Linked DNA regions of Homo sapiens: region 2 is linked to region 1. Evidence: promoter capture Hi-C in human tissues and cell types (Jung and others, 2019). All regions are on one chromosome and are shown on one strand. Each heading gives the region's core, a stretch centred on a gene start or on the middle of the fragment in contact. The rest is flanking DNA. Distances are from core to core; before and after follow the strand shown.

The links. The method cuts DNA at HindIII sites, captures the fragments that hold promoters and counts their contacts. A contact is called where the count stands out against the background at its distance.
Region 2: a contact is called between a fragment that was not itself captured here and the fragment with the promoter of ZBTB32 in region 1, in 4 of the 25 tissues and cell types used here (aorta, liver, pancreas and 1 more).

What each region holds. Positions count from the first base shown.
Region 1 is chr19:35,701,246-35,708,315 of GRCh38, reverse strand. ZBTB32 (zinc finger and BTB domain containing 32) reads right to left here and starts at 3,758. Exons shown (of 7, transcript NM_014383.3): 1 at 3,693-3,758. RefSeq lists an enhancer at 5,979-6,218. The HindIII fragment of the contact is 13,873 bases long and covers 1-7,070 here.
Region 2 is chr19:35,487,151-35,494,220 of GRCh38, reverse strand. It overlaps KRTDAP (keratinocyte differentiation associated protein), which reads left to right and starts at 3,757. Exons shown (of 6, transcript NM_207392.3): 1 at 3,757-3,865; 2 at 5,381-5,419; 3 at 5,518-5,559; 4 at 5,736-5,780; 5 at 6,462-6,509; 6 at 6,755-6,897. The coding sequence starts at 3,779. The coding sequence ends at 6,793. The HindIII fragment of the contact is 6,388 bases long and covers 848-7,070 here.

The sequences.
Region 1 (7,070 bases), core at 2,509-5,008:
GATTTCCTGGACCAAATGACTCTGAGGCCCCCTACACAGGACTCAACCCCAGGCCTGTATTCATGAGAGTGGACTCTGACTGATGTACACACACGCTAGACCCTGATTTTGTGTAAGGGATTTGTAGACTGAGCTTGGATGTGCAGGCTAGAATGTGAGACACCTTGAAGTATGGGCCAACACCAGGCATGGGAAGAGACGAGGGAGTCTCTGTCATCTTGCCCAGGCCCCATAAATAATATAGGAACCTACTTTATTCCAATGGTTCTAAATCTCTTAGGGAGTCACCATCAGGTTCAGAATGTCACCCATGGGACTAACTCTTCTTTTTATTGAGACAGAGTCTCCTTCTGTCACCCAGACTGGAGTGCAGTGGCACGATCTTGGCTCAGTGCAACCTCTGCCTCCCAGGTTCAAGAGATTCTCCTGCCTCAGCCTCCTGAGTAGCTGGGACTACAGGCACGCACCACGACACCCGGCTAATTTTTGTATTTTTAGTAGAGATGAGGTTTTACCATGTTGGCCAGGCTGGTCTCAAACTTCTGACCTCAAGTGATCCACCCGCCTCAGCCTCCCAGAGTGCAGGGATTACAAGTGTGAGCCACCCAGCCTGGGACCAATTGTTGACATTAGAAAATGGTAGACACAGGCCGGGTGCGGTGGCTCACGCCTGTAATCCCAGCACTTTGGGAGGCCGAGGTGGGCGGATCACAAGGTGAAGAGATAGAGACCGTCCTGGCCAACATGGTGAAATGCCGTCTCTACTAAAAATACAAAAATTAGCTGGGCGTGGTGGCACGTGCCTGTAATCCCAGCTACTTGGGAGGCTGAGGCAGGAGAATTGCTTAAACCCGGGAGGCGGAGGTTGCAGTGAGCCAAGATCACACCACTGCACTCCAGCCTGGTAACAGAGCTAAGACTCCATCTCGAAAAAAAAAAAAAAAAAGAAAATGGTAGACACTTATACCACTTGGCATATGAATGCATGACAAGAGATTGACAGATTACTCTGAGCCTCATGGCTGGAGAGGTTAACTATCGTCTAGCTTATTCTTTACCCTCCCCTCCTCATAATATACATGCATACCATTAATTGTTCTTTTTTTTTTTTTTTTTTTTTAGAGACACAGTCTTGCTCTGTCACCCAGCCTGGAGTGCAGTGGCACAATCATGGCTCACTGCAGTCTTGACATCCTGGGCTCAAGTCATCCCCCTATCTCAGCCTCCTGAGTAGCTGGGATTACAGGCATGTGCCATCATGCTTGGTGGCTGTCTGCCGAGCTGGGATTAACTGCACACTTCATGTGCCAGCACCCCGGGCCCCCACCACACCATAGAGGGAATGGCCAATTGAGCTGCCCCAATATTAACTGGTTTCGGGGTTAGACTTCCTTGAAGTCCACTCATAAGCCACTCCTTGCACCCTCACCCCTGGTTAAAGAACTCTGGGTGTACTGAAGGCACTCCGAAAGCATAAATACCACTGAACAGCTGAATGAAACTAGGTATCAACACCCTGCCCCATGAGTATAAAAAAGATCATCAGTAAAGACAACCTGGGTGATTTCCTTTATGTTATTTACTTATTTATTTTTGAGACAGAGTTTTGCCCTTGTTGCCCAGGCTGGAGTGCAGTGGCGCGATCTCGGCTCACTGCAACCTCTGCCTCCTGGGTTCAAGTGATTCTCCTACCTCAGGCTCCTAAGTAGCTGGGATTACAGGCATCTACCATGCCCGGCTAATTTTTTGCATTTTTAGTAGAGATGGGGTTTCACCACGTTGGCCAGGCTGGTCTTGAACTCCTGACCTCAGGTGATCCACCTGCCTCGGCCTCCCAAAGTGCTAGGATTACAGGTGTGAGCCACCACGCCCTGCCAAAAACCTGGGTGATTTCCTAAAGAGGAGAATATCTCACACACCTCTTCCTGTGCTCCACTACGATGTTCATCCTCCCCATGCACCTGCCCCGCACCTACAGCCTGATATCTTCATCTTCTAGGAATTATCAGAACAGGCATGGGAAAGAGTGGGACAGGGAGAATGAAAAGCTCCAGACATGACCCAATTCCAGTTTTTTTTTTTTTTTTGAGATGGAGTTTCGCTCTTGTTGCCCAGGCTGGAGTGCAATGGCACGATCTCGGCTCACCGCAACCTCCGCCTCCCAGGTACAAGCGATTCTCCTGCCTCAGCCTCCCTAGTAGCTGGGATTACAGGCATGTGCCACCACGCCCAGCTAATTTTGTATTTTTAGTAGAGATGGGGTTTCTCCATGTTGGTCATGCTGGTCTCAAACTTCTGACCTCAGGTAATCCGCCCGCCTTGGCCTCTCAAAGTGCTGGGATTATAGATGTGAGCCCCCACGCCTGGCCCTGCTTTTTTTTTTTTTTAATTAATTTTTTTTTTTTGAGACAGAGCATTGCTCTGTTGCCCAGGCTGGAGTGCAGTGGTGCGATCTCTGCTCACTGCAACCTCCGCCTCGTGGGTTCAAGGGATTCTCCTGCCTCAGACTCCTGAGTAGCTGGGATTACAGGCACCTGCCACCACACCTGGCTAATTTTTGTATTTTTAGTAGAGACAGGGTTTCACCATGTTGGTCAGGCTGGTCTCGAGCTCCTGACCTGGTGATCCACCCACCTCAGCCTCCCAAAGTGCTGGGATTACAGGTGTGAGCCACCACGCCTGGCCACCCAATCCCAGTTCTGTACAGAGCCACCACAAGGCAATAATACTTCATCCAGCGCAAACAGCTCGGCTGGGATTCAGAATCCTTCTCCCTAGAATCTCCAGAGGATTACTGGCCTAACCTCTTGGCCACATCATCCAACCTGGACTCCATACTGGGAAATCTGCCAAGAACATCTCAACCTGGAGTCCAGAACATTCACTCCCAGCCCAGGCTGGCTCCAAAGACCCCAGGAAACCTTCATGTGCACACTAGTTTCATCTCTTGGCCAGTGACTTCCTACATAACTTTTTTTTTCTTTTCATTTTTTTTCTTGAGACAGGGTCTCATTCTGTCGCCCAGGCTGGAGTGCAATGGCGTGATCTCAGCTCACTGCAACGTTCATCTCCTGAGTTCAATGAGTTCAAGCGATTCTCCTGCCTCAGCTTTCTGAGTAGCTGGGATTACGGACGTGTGCCACCACGCCCAGGTAATTTTTTTTAGAAACCCCGTAGAGACAGGGTTTCTCCATGTTGGCCAGGCTGGTCTCAAACTCCTGACCTCAAATGATCCACCTGCCTCAGCCTCCCAAAGTGCTGGGATTACAGGCGTGAGCCACCGCGCCCAGCCCCTGCATAACCTTTGGAGATCCACAGGCCTCTCCTTTCAGTCACCGGATCCAGGCTCAGTCCAGAGACCCTTGATAAGCTCTCATTGTCCGGAGGCCATACCTCATGCAGAGTTAAGGACCTCCAACTTCCCCACAACACCCTTCCTACTCAGGCTGGCCTCGGGGGCCGTGGACCAACTCAGAGAGCAAGCTGGCTTAGCCTCTGCCAAACCTAGGCCTAAAGGTGGCCAGGAGGCTGCATTTCCAGCCTCTCAAAGGCAGAGGAAAGCCCCAAGGGCTAAAGCCCTCAACCCGCACTTCCCAATCATCAACGAGGTCCAGTCAAGCCCCCATACCCCAGATTTGCCTGGGCCGGGCCCAAGCCCAAGAAAGTAAAGTAAGAAAAACTATGGCACTCACCGGCCCAGACCCTGTTCCTCCTTCCCTTTCAGCCTCACATACACCCAGGACGGCTTAAGGCCGAGTGACCGTTAAAAGTGGGGAATGGAGCGAGGCCAGGGACGCAACGCTCCCGCACGTGGTCACCCCTGGATCCTGAGGCGGACGCTGATTGGCTGCAGCGCGGGCCGCATTCTCCCGCTCAGGCCAGCTGAGCACGCTGGGCAGCCTGGGAGGCACCTAGGACAGCGCCACTCCCGCGCGTCTGCCTCGGACCCGCAGCTGATTGGCTGTGAAGGGGCAGAGCCTTGAGTCTCATTGGTCCATAGGCTTCAGGCCTCTTAGGCTGAGATTTCATTGATTTCCAGCCGGGCCCCAGCGTTGATCTGCTGTGGAGTCTGCCTTTTCCCACTCTCTCCACGAAGAGACTGGACCCTGATTCTCCTTCACCTGAACAGCCCTGGAGGCTCCCTCAGCAAGTGCTCAGGAGTACTACTGTCCTTTTTTTTTTTTTTTTTTTTGAGACAGAGTCTCGCTCTGTCGCCCAGGCTGGAGTGCAGTGGCGCGATCTCTGCTCACTGCAAGCTCCGACTCCCGGGCTCACACCATTCTCCTGCCTTAGCCTCCCAAGTAGCTGGGACTACAGGCGCCCGCCATCACGCCCGGCTAATTTTTTGTACATTTAGTAGAGATGGGGTTTCACCATGTTAGCCAGGATGGTCTCGATCTCCTGACCTCGTGATCCACTCGCCTCGGCCTCCCAAAGTGCTGGGATTACAGGCGTGAGCCACCACGCCCGGCTTTTTAAAAAATTATTATTTCATTTTTATTTTATGAACGGGGTCTCCCTCTGTTGCCGGTGCTGGGGTGCAATGGTGCAATCATAGCTCACTGCAGCCTCGAACTCCTGGGCTCAAGCAATCCTTCCACCTGGGCCTCCCAAAATTCTGGAACTACAGCCGTGAGACACCGTGCCTGACCTGCCTTTCTTGCTTCTATTTTGCCACCCTAAGTAGCTCCCATTTGCAAACCCTGTCACCTTTCTCTCAACCCTTTACCATCTGTGAGGTGTGTAGGGGGTGTGTAGGCTGCCGCCACACCTGATTGGCTGGGAGGCCCGTAAGAGCAAGCCAAGGCCAGGCACGGTGGCTCATGCCCGTAATCCCAGGGCTTTGAGAGGTCCAGGTGGTAGTAGGATCGCTTGAGCCCAGGAGGTCGAGGCTGCAGTGAGCTATGATCACACCACTGCACTGCAGCCTGGGCGACACAGTGAGGCCCTGTCTCTAATAAATAAATAAAAATAAAATAAAAGAGCCAGCCAGGCAGGGCACGGTGGCTCACGCCTGAAAACCCAGCACTTTGGGAGGCCGAGGAGGGCGGATCACCTGGGGTCAGGAGTTCGAGATCAGCATGACCAACATGGTGAAACCCCGTCTCTACTAAAAATACAAAAATTAGCTGAGCGTGGTGGCGGGCGCCTGTAATTCCAGCTACTCGGCAGGCTGAGGCAGGGGAATCGCTTGAACCCCGGGAGGCGGAGATTGCAGGGAGCCTATATCGCGCCACTGCACTCCAGCCTGGGAGACAGAGCGAGACGGCGTCTCAAAAAAAAAAAGAGCCAGCCAGGCTTCGGTGCCTGTGAACAGCTCCCTTTTCTCTCTTGTCCCACTCCACCACGATTGCTGGCACAGCTCACTCTGCCTCGCCTGGAAGCCTGGAAGTGTACAGGGACAGGAAAGACACAAGAGGGGGGCAGTGCCTTGCCCCGTGATTGGCAGCGTGACACTTGCACTTCCAATTCCCACTGCCACCTCGACTGTATGCTCAGCCAGGAGTAACTGCGCGCGGACGTGTCAGCACTCCCACCTCCAACCATACCGCAGAGGGAACGGCCGATTGCGCTGCCCCAACATTAACTGGCCCGGGGGTTAGACTCCCTCCAGCAGGGTTTCCCCCTGGGCAGGGCTTCGGGGCTAACAAGCTGCGAGCTCGCCCCTCGCCAGTCTCCCGAGGTGCTTGTCTGCGGGGCTTCTGGCCCGGCCCCCGCGGCGGTTGCACCGCTGATTGGCTGGCTCCGCTCCTTTCTAAGTGGCTTAGCCTGGGATTCGTTCTCAAGCATAGCCAATGAGACGCCAGGGCGCCTCAAGCAGGCGGGCATGACTCCACCGCTGTCGCTTCTGATTGGCCCTAAGGCTCGTCTTCGCTTTAGATTGACCAGAGAGCAGCGGGGCGGGAGCTTAGTTGAGCAGTTTCAGGCTGCGATGCGAGTTCGGTACCTTCCCGCTGCGCGGAGTGTTGTTGTGCGCGTCCTTCGCAGCCGCTCGCTGAGGAGCTGGAGTGGGGAGGAATGGGGGTGGTCAGGAGACAGGAGAGCACCTCGCGGAAGAGCCTGGGACAACAACCGGAGCTGTAGGTCCTGACCGAGACAGCCTGAGGCGTCCCTGGCCCCGATAGGGAGCGAAACCGCTAAAATGGGGGAAGGGGCCGGACGTGGTGGCTCACGCCTGTAATCCCAGCACTTTGGGAGGCTAAGGCGGGCAGATCACCTGAGGTCAGGAGTTCGAGACCAGCCTGACCAATATGGTGAAACCCCGTCTCTACTAAAAATACAAAAATTAGCCGGGCGTGGTGGGGGATGCCTGTAACCCCAGCTACTCGGGAGGCCCAGGCAGGTGAATTGCTTGAACCCGAGAGGCGGAAGTTACAGTGAGCGGAGATGGCGCCACTACGCTCCAGCCTGGGCGACAGAGCAAGACTCCATCTCAAAAAATAAAAATAAAAAATAAAGTAAAAAAGGGAGAAGGACTGGCACTGTGGTGGGAGTAATAGCACCTCGTGTTTACCGAGCCCTTTCCATGTGCCACGCTTGTGCATCAACTCGTTGAAACCTAAATAACCCCGTGAGGGAGGCGATTACTATGCCAGGTTAACCTCTGAGGGTCAAAGAGGTGAAGTCGTTTATTTAGGGTCCCGCAGCAGTTACGGGCATTGCTGGAACTCGAACCCTGCTGTGGTGAGAGCCCAACCTTCAAGCTACACTATGATTAAGTAGGATTGATTTTGTAGATGGGGATGGGGTCTGATCACATTGGCCCTGGTTTTGGGAAAATGGACTGACATGTACAAAAAGGTATTTTATTTATTTATTTATTTATTTATTTATTTTTGAGACAGAGTCTTGCTCTGTCGCCCAGGCTGGAGTGCAGTTGTGCGATCTCAGCTCTCTGCAATCTCCACCTCCCGGGGTTCAAGCCATCCTCCTGTCTCAGCCTCCCGAGTAGCTGGGATTACAGCCACCTGCCACCATGCCCGGCTAATTTTTGTATTTTTAGTAGAGACGGGGTTTCACCATGTTGGCCAGGCTGGTCTCGAACTCCTGACTTCAAGTGATCCTCCTGC
Region 2 (7,070 bases), core at 2,792-5,291, 210 kb after region 1:
GGCCTCGCCTCCTACCCACACTCAAGTTCTGGCAGATTTGGGGTGGGGTGGGGGCAGGCCTGTGGGAAAACAGAGGTTTACTGGTATTCTCAGTGAGGGAGCTAGGAAGTCAAGCCGACCTGGAGATGTGATGTTGCAGAGCCAGTCTCTGCGGCTGCCTGACTCCATTAACCCTCCGTGATTCATCCAAAGCTGAGCTGCGTATCGGGCAGATTTTCCTGCAGCCCATCACCTGAACTGCTGGGACCCTCTCCCAGGGAGAACTCCCTGCCCCTCTCTTTCCCCATCTGCCCAACCCAACTCAGGGAACACAAACTACTCAGGCAGCGTAGATGGAGGAAGAGGGAGGAGTTTGGAGAGAGACACTGGCTTCTAAAGTTGGCCGCTTACAGCAAAAATCACGTCAAGATGGAACTAGCTGGGCGCCGTGGCTCACTCCTGTGATCCCAGCACTTTGGGAGGCCGAGGCAGATCACTTGAGGTCAGGAATTTGAGACGATCCTGGCCAACATGGTGAAACCCCGTCTCTGCTAAAAATACAAAAATTAGCTGGGTGTGGCGGCGCACGCCTGTCATCCCAGCTACTCGGGAGACTGAGACAGGAGAATCACTCCTCCTGGGAGGTGGAGGTTGCAGTGAGCCGAGATCATACCACTGCACTCTAGCCTGGGCAACAGAGCAAGACTCTGTCTCAAAAACAAAAAACAACAAACAAACAAAACCCCAAAAAACTACCCTCAGAAGGTGCCAGGAAGATGCCAAGTGGAAACAAATCATGAGTCCAACACAGACAGCTTTTTTTCCAGCATAGGAAGAGAATTTCTTTGGTTGAGCACACAAAGCAGTTGGCCTGTGTTTAGAGGTATGATACAAAAAGTACCTATTTTTAAACAGCAGAATGTTGAACACTAGATCCAGAAACGGAACCCTATCTGTAAACACATACTTGGTGTGGCAAGATGATTATACTACTGGAGGCATCTGGAAACGGAGGCAATCACAGGTTCATTCGGGGGCTGATGCCACTAACCTTCATTCTTCGTTTTCATTTTGTCAAGAGTGTGCAGTTTGATTCATTTAAATGAATGCACCTATGCTTGGGGCTGCCACCTCTGATGGTGCAGGCTATGCACCACAATGGACACTGTAAAGGGGACCTGTGGGGGTTCGATGCAGTCTGCCCCCCACTCTCAGGACATGGGTCTAATTCACACAGGGTGTTACATGTGCTGTAACATAGCCTGTCCAGCATAGAGAGGAGCAATATAGGTTCAGGCTCTGGAAGCCCAGCGTTCTAATGCTGGTCCTGTCACATTCTGGCTGTGTGACCTGGGGTGAGTTATTTAACCTCTATATGCTGTGGTTCCCCCGCCTATAGAATGTGAATAATTATAGTACCCACCTGTGTCAGAATCACTGGGACATTTCAATGAGATCGCGTATTTGGAGCACTTAGTACAAGGTCTGCCATATAGTAAGCCTCAGTAACTCAGCTAACATTGTTATCAATACCATCGGGTGGAGAGGAAAACATAGGGAGGGCAATTTATTGTCAAAGGAAAATCACAGATTAGACTCTAGAGCAAAACAGAAGACAGCGTTGGATTGACCGATGCTCTAGATCACCCAGGCCAAAACTGGCACTGGGTCCCCTCACCCGCCTGTCAAATCGTAGCTGGTTATACAACATCAGTTCTCTTTTGTCTGATTCTTCACTCCCTGGAGTCGACCCTATGCGGATGGAATGGTGGCTAATGAGCTTTTTCAGTCACTGTTCGTTAATTAGCAAGGATTCATTACACAGAACTTGTGTCCTCCAGAAAACCTTTTGGGAGGTGCTCCACCCACCTCAGTCATTCTCTAACTCGTCCCCTCCAGGAGCACCAACTCTGTGACATCCACTACTGTGTGGCCATCTGGGCTAAGGGAGTGTTCTCTAAGCAGTGTTCCCTCAGGTAGCTCTGCAAAGGGGAAGCTGCCATTATAAAATCAGAGGAGGCTGAAGAGGATGTCTGGGACTGGGGTGTGGGGGCAGCGTGAGGATGGAGCTGAGGTGCCCAGCTTCTGGGGTTCGTAAAGGTTGTTCATGGATGCCGTCCAGCCCTCCCACCCAGGGCCACCGCCACCGTGCATTGCATCAGGTTGTGTTGATAAGGTCTTGCTTTTCCCTGACAGCGCCGGTCCATGTCCCAGCCCCTCCCTGTTACAGCAGGAGCCGGTTTGGCCACCTGAACCTCACTGTGGAGAAGGCTGCTTGACTAGGACATTGTGTCACAGTGAGGTGATCCAACTTCCAAACTGGGGGTGGGGCAAGGTGGGTTAGGGCAATGACATGGAGTGGGCACTCCAGGTTCAGGGTACCTGGATCCCATCTCCAACTGGGCACCCTAAGAGCTGTTTTTTGTTCCCTGTTCCTTGTCATCTTAGCTCAAGACAGTCATTTCTCTGAAGACCCAAGAGTAAAAGACGGGCAGTTGGAAAATGGAAAGGTTCAGCCCCATGAAAGGAAAATGTACACTGTGGCTGAAGGATGCCTGAATACTAAGTCTAACGTATCATATCTGACCAATGCTGACTCTACCTGGGTTCTGTGTGAGCCATGGTTCTAGGGGGATGTAAAGCTGATCAAGATACAGCTCCTGACCTCAAGGAACTTGATACTCTAAAAGGGAAACAAGGCGAGAACATGACTTACTTAGATACAATGCCAGAGACATACAAACGAATGAATATGGGAATTCTGTGAAAGGAAAGGTGTGGAGAGAAGGACTGGGCATTGCAGGAAAAATCTGGGAAGCTTCATCCAAGATGAGTGTTGGGTTCTGAGAACTGGAGATGAGAGAAGGCCATGTTAGGAATAAGGAACAGCATGGCCGGATGCTTTGAAGAGGGAAAAAGAAGGATATAGTTGGTAAGGGGTCTAATTTGGCCAGAATGTGAGGTATGTACAAAGCTAGTAAAGGAAGAAGTTATAAAGGTGGGTTGAGTTCAGAGCATGGACCACCTTCAATGCCAAGCTAAAGAGTTTACATAGATTTTGGTAGGGTGGAAGAAAAGGCCTGAATGAGCATGGAGCGCAGGCTCACACCTATAGTCCTTTGGGAGGTCAAGGCAGGCGGACCCCTTGAGTCCAGGAGTTTGAGGCCAGCTTGGGCAACATGGCGAGACATTTTCATCTCTACGAGAAAATTAAAAAAAAAAAAAGCTGCAACATCTCTACAAGAAAATAAAAAAGTTAGCTAGGTGAGGTGATGCGTGCCTCTAGTCCCAGCTACTAGGGAGACTGAGGTGGGAGGATTGCTTGAGCCTGGGAGGTCAAGGCTGCAGTGAGCTGTGATCACACCACTGCACTCCAGTCTGGGCAACGAGTGAGAGCCTGTCAAAAAAAAAGAAAAGAAAAGAAAAGAAAAAGCCTGAATTCTAAGAGAGGAATGAGGGATATAACGAAAAGAGACAAAGACAAAAGGAGAGGTTGCTTGGGTACCACTGCCAATCCCTTGGAGGGACAGGTCCAACCTGTCTCTGTCCCAGCCCCATCTGCATGAAGAGACCCATTGCAGTGTTACCTTCCACGTGCCTGGGGCAGAATGCGAATTGAGAAATCCGAGGCAAATGAGGAACAGTCCATGCCTCCCCCTCCCAGAGCCCCGGGGGTGGGCGACAAGATCTGGGGGTGAGTCAGTGGGGTGGGGACCCCATTTCTGTGCTCATCTGCCTCCTTGGCAATATAAAGAGCAAGCACTGAGGCCCCGCCTCAGAGCACCCCAAACTTGACGCCATGAAGATCCCGGTCCTTCCTGCCGTGGTGCTCCTCTCCCTCCTGGTGCTCCACTCTGCCCAGGGAGCCACCCTGGGTGGTCCTGAGGTGAGCACGTCACCTGCATTTTTATTCTTATACGTGTTACCCACCTACCCCTCCATCTCTCTACCTCCTGTCCATTCCTGGATAAGTGGCTCTTAGTTTTGGATTCTGATGGGGGCTGAAGAAACTGGGGCTCTGAGGAAGGGAGGAGGGAACAGAGCATCCCTGGGGAGACATTTGGGACAGAGATGCTCCTCTTTCTGGAAGGGATGGTGAAGTGTGTTGGGGAGGCTCGTGTACTGAACCTTGGGACTGAGTGGGTGGTCTGGGTTCAGACTATCTCCACCATGGGCTCTCAAGAGTGTTCACCCATTCCGTTCCAGCTGCACACATGCCTGGGGACGTGCAGGGGAAGAGGGGGAACTGGAGAACGGCAATGTGAGGCAGAGCAGCTCCAAACCCAGGCCTGCATCCACATGGGCAGCAGGTGGAGAGGGTGAAGCAAAGCAAAAAACTAGCTAGTTCTGCCTGCAGCTGACTTAACTCAAAGAGGAGTGGGGCTGGGGTGTTCTGGAGACACCCCTGCTTAGCTCCTCTTTGCTTCATTTGTGCCCCTGGGAGTGGTGCCCAGGTGACGGGTGGCTCCCTGCTGTCTCTGGAGCATAGGCCACAGTGAGAATCTTTACCATCCAGTCCTCAGCCAGAGAGGAATCCTGATGCCTATTCCGGATTTAAAAGTCTAAGACAGGGGCACAGGCTCAGCTGCTAAGGACCAAGCCAGTGGTGTCACTGAGCTGGGGGGGCTGTCAGGGCCTGAGGTGAAATGGGGCCAACTTTCCCAGTCTGAAAGGGCAGCTTTCACCCCACCTGACGCCATGGATTGGGAAGATGTGCCTAGAGTTTTACATTTTTCAGGGGAAACTAGAAATCTGGATGAATTTATGAATTCTTACTAATTCAAAATGTCTAATTCAAACCAAAAAACAAATGACCAAATTTTTATGAGATCTAAGCATCTGGATCCAGCCTGCGGGCTCCGTGTTGGGCTCTGTCATGGGGAAGACACGATGGGACACACTGAGGCCTGGGGTGGGGTCCCCATGGAGGGGGATTATGGAACCTCCAACAGTGGTGGCAATAAATCCACAAAGCAAAGCAACCTCGATCAGTGAGAGGCAGGCGGGTCACCTCAGCAGCTGGGCTCCCACCTGCTCGCAAATCTTTCCCATCCAGCTATACGGACTGAGCGTGGGTGTCTCCAGAACACCCCACCTCTTAGACTTAAGTCAACTGCAGGACAGCACTAGCTAGCTTTTCCGGAGAGGAATGCTCGGCTCCAGGCTTTCTGCCTGCTGCCCATGGTGACACTGCTTACATGTACCATTCTCCAATTCCCCCTCCTCACCCTGCACATCCGCCAACCATGTGCGCGACTGGAACGGAGACCATGGTGGGGAATGGGTTGCGTTCTTTCGGGGACTGGGCTGTGGATGAAGGCAGAGCTGGCAGACAGGGATGTGGGCAAGGGCCCTGGCATCACGTGACCCCCTGCCGCCTTTTCTCCCTCTCCTTTTCCAGGAAGAAAGCACCATTGAGAATTATGCGTCACGACCCGAGGTAAGCCGTCTGTTTTCCCCGGCCCTCCAGCCACGAGTCTGTCCTCTCTCTCTTTTTGCTTCTTAGCAACTTTCCTAACACCCTGCGTTTCTGCCTAGGCCTTTAACACCCCGTTCCTGAACATCGACAAATTGCGATCTGTGAGTACGCTTCTCTGGTGCTACCCCCACGAATACCCTCATCACAGAGGGGATAAACGCCTTGGTAGAGAGCTTGCAAAGCTGCCACGGTTCCTTCACCTTCTCCAGAGGGCTGGGGGCTAAGCTCTGGCCTCCCCTGGAGCTGACCTGCTTCTGCTGTCTCTCTTCCTCCTCAGGCGTTTAAGGCTGATGAGTTCCTGAACTGGCACGCCCTCTTTGAGGTGAGTGCTCCGGCGCCCCTTGCCCTCCTCGGTTGTCTGCAGTCATCCCAGGGTAGTGGCCACACATTTTGGCTTTAAATGTATGGGTTGGTTCCTGATCTCTGGGAGGGAGTGACTGTCCTGCCTGGATGCTGCCCAATGGGCTGTCAACGGAAGAAAGCTTCCCCCGGCGCCAGTCCTGGCTACCCGTGTTTTCCTAAGATGGTGGTGGAGGAGCAGGGCCCCAAGGACAATTGCAGAAGAGGAAGAGGCTAATCGGTCAAGATTTTATTTGAATCCCCTCATCCTCTATGGAAAAACTGAGGCCCACCCGCACTTAGAAGGCAAAGTCAGCGACAGAGCTGGGGCCCGCGTCTCCTGACTCTGCACTGACTTCTCACATGGCCTCATGCGAACGCCTTCAGCTCCCTCGGCCTCCGCTTCCTCTGTGATGTGGGGATGATGACAATTCCCACCACAAAAGGTTGCTGTAAAAACCCACTGAAATCATGCTTGTAGAGCAGCCCGTGCAAGGCAGACACAGACTAAGGCCTCAGGAAATATTAGCTCTTGATAAAGTAATGACAAAATAATGACATTATTGTTACTATGGTTACTGTGGGAGTTCATTAAGGGAATGCTTACCCATCCATGCCCGGCTGACCTGCAACACATCACTCTCTTTCTCTTTCTTTCTTTTAGTCTATCAAAAGGAAACTTCCTTTCCTCAACTGGGATGCCTTTCCTAAGGTAAGAGGTGTGGGCATTAGGAGGGTATGGAGCTTGGGGGTAAGGGAAGAAGCAGAAGATATGGGAGAGAGAGTGGGGACAGGGAAAGGAGGATCAGCCTTCTCACCAAACTGAAGGGAGGTCTTAGCTACTACATATAGAGGAGAACGGGAACTCACACCGAGGCAGAAATTCCTTTCCATCCATGCCATCCTATACTGGGCACCCACGGGTTCCCCATCTAACCCTGACCCCTCTCCCTCTAGCTGAAAGGACTGAGGAGCGCAACTCCTGATGCCCAGTGACCATGACCTCCACTGGAAGAGGGGGCTAGCGTGAGCGCTGATTCTCAACCTACCATAACTCTTTCCTGCCTCAGGAACTCCAATAAAACATTTTCCATCCAACAGCTCCTGTATCTGCGTCTCTGTCCTCCTACTGGGCTTTACAAAGGAATTAAGATGGAATGAGCCCCAAGGCTGATAGGTAGAAATCTTGACTTCCAAGAGGAGAGTAAGTAGGGAGACAGGAGGAAATAGAAAGGACACACCAAGATGGCAAGAGACCCCCTTGTGTCTTAGC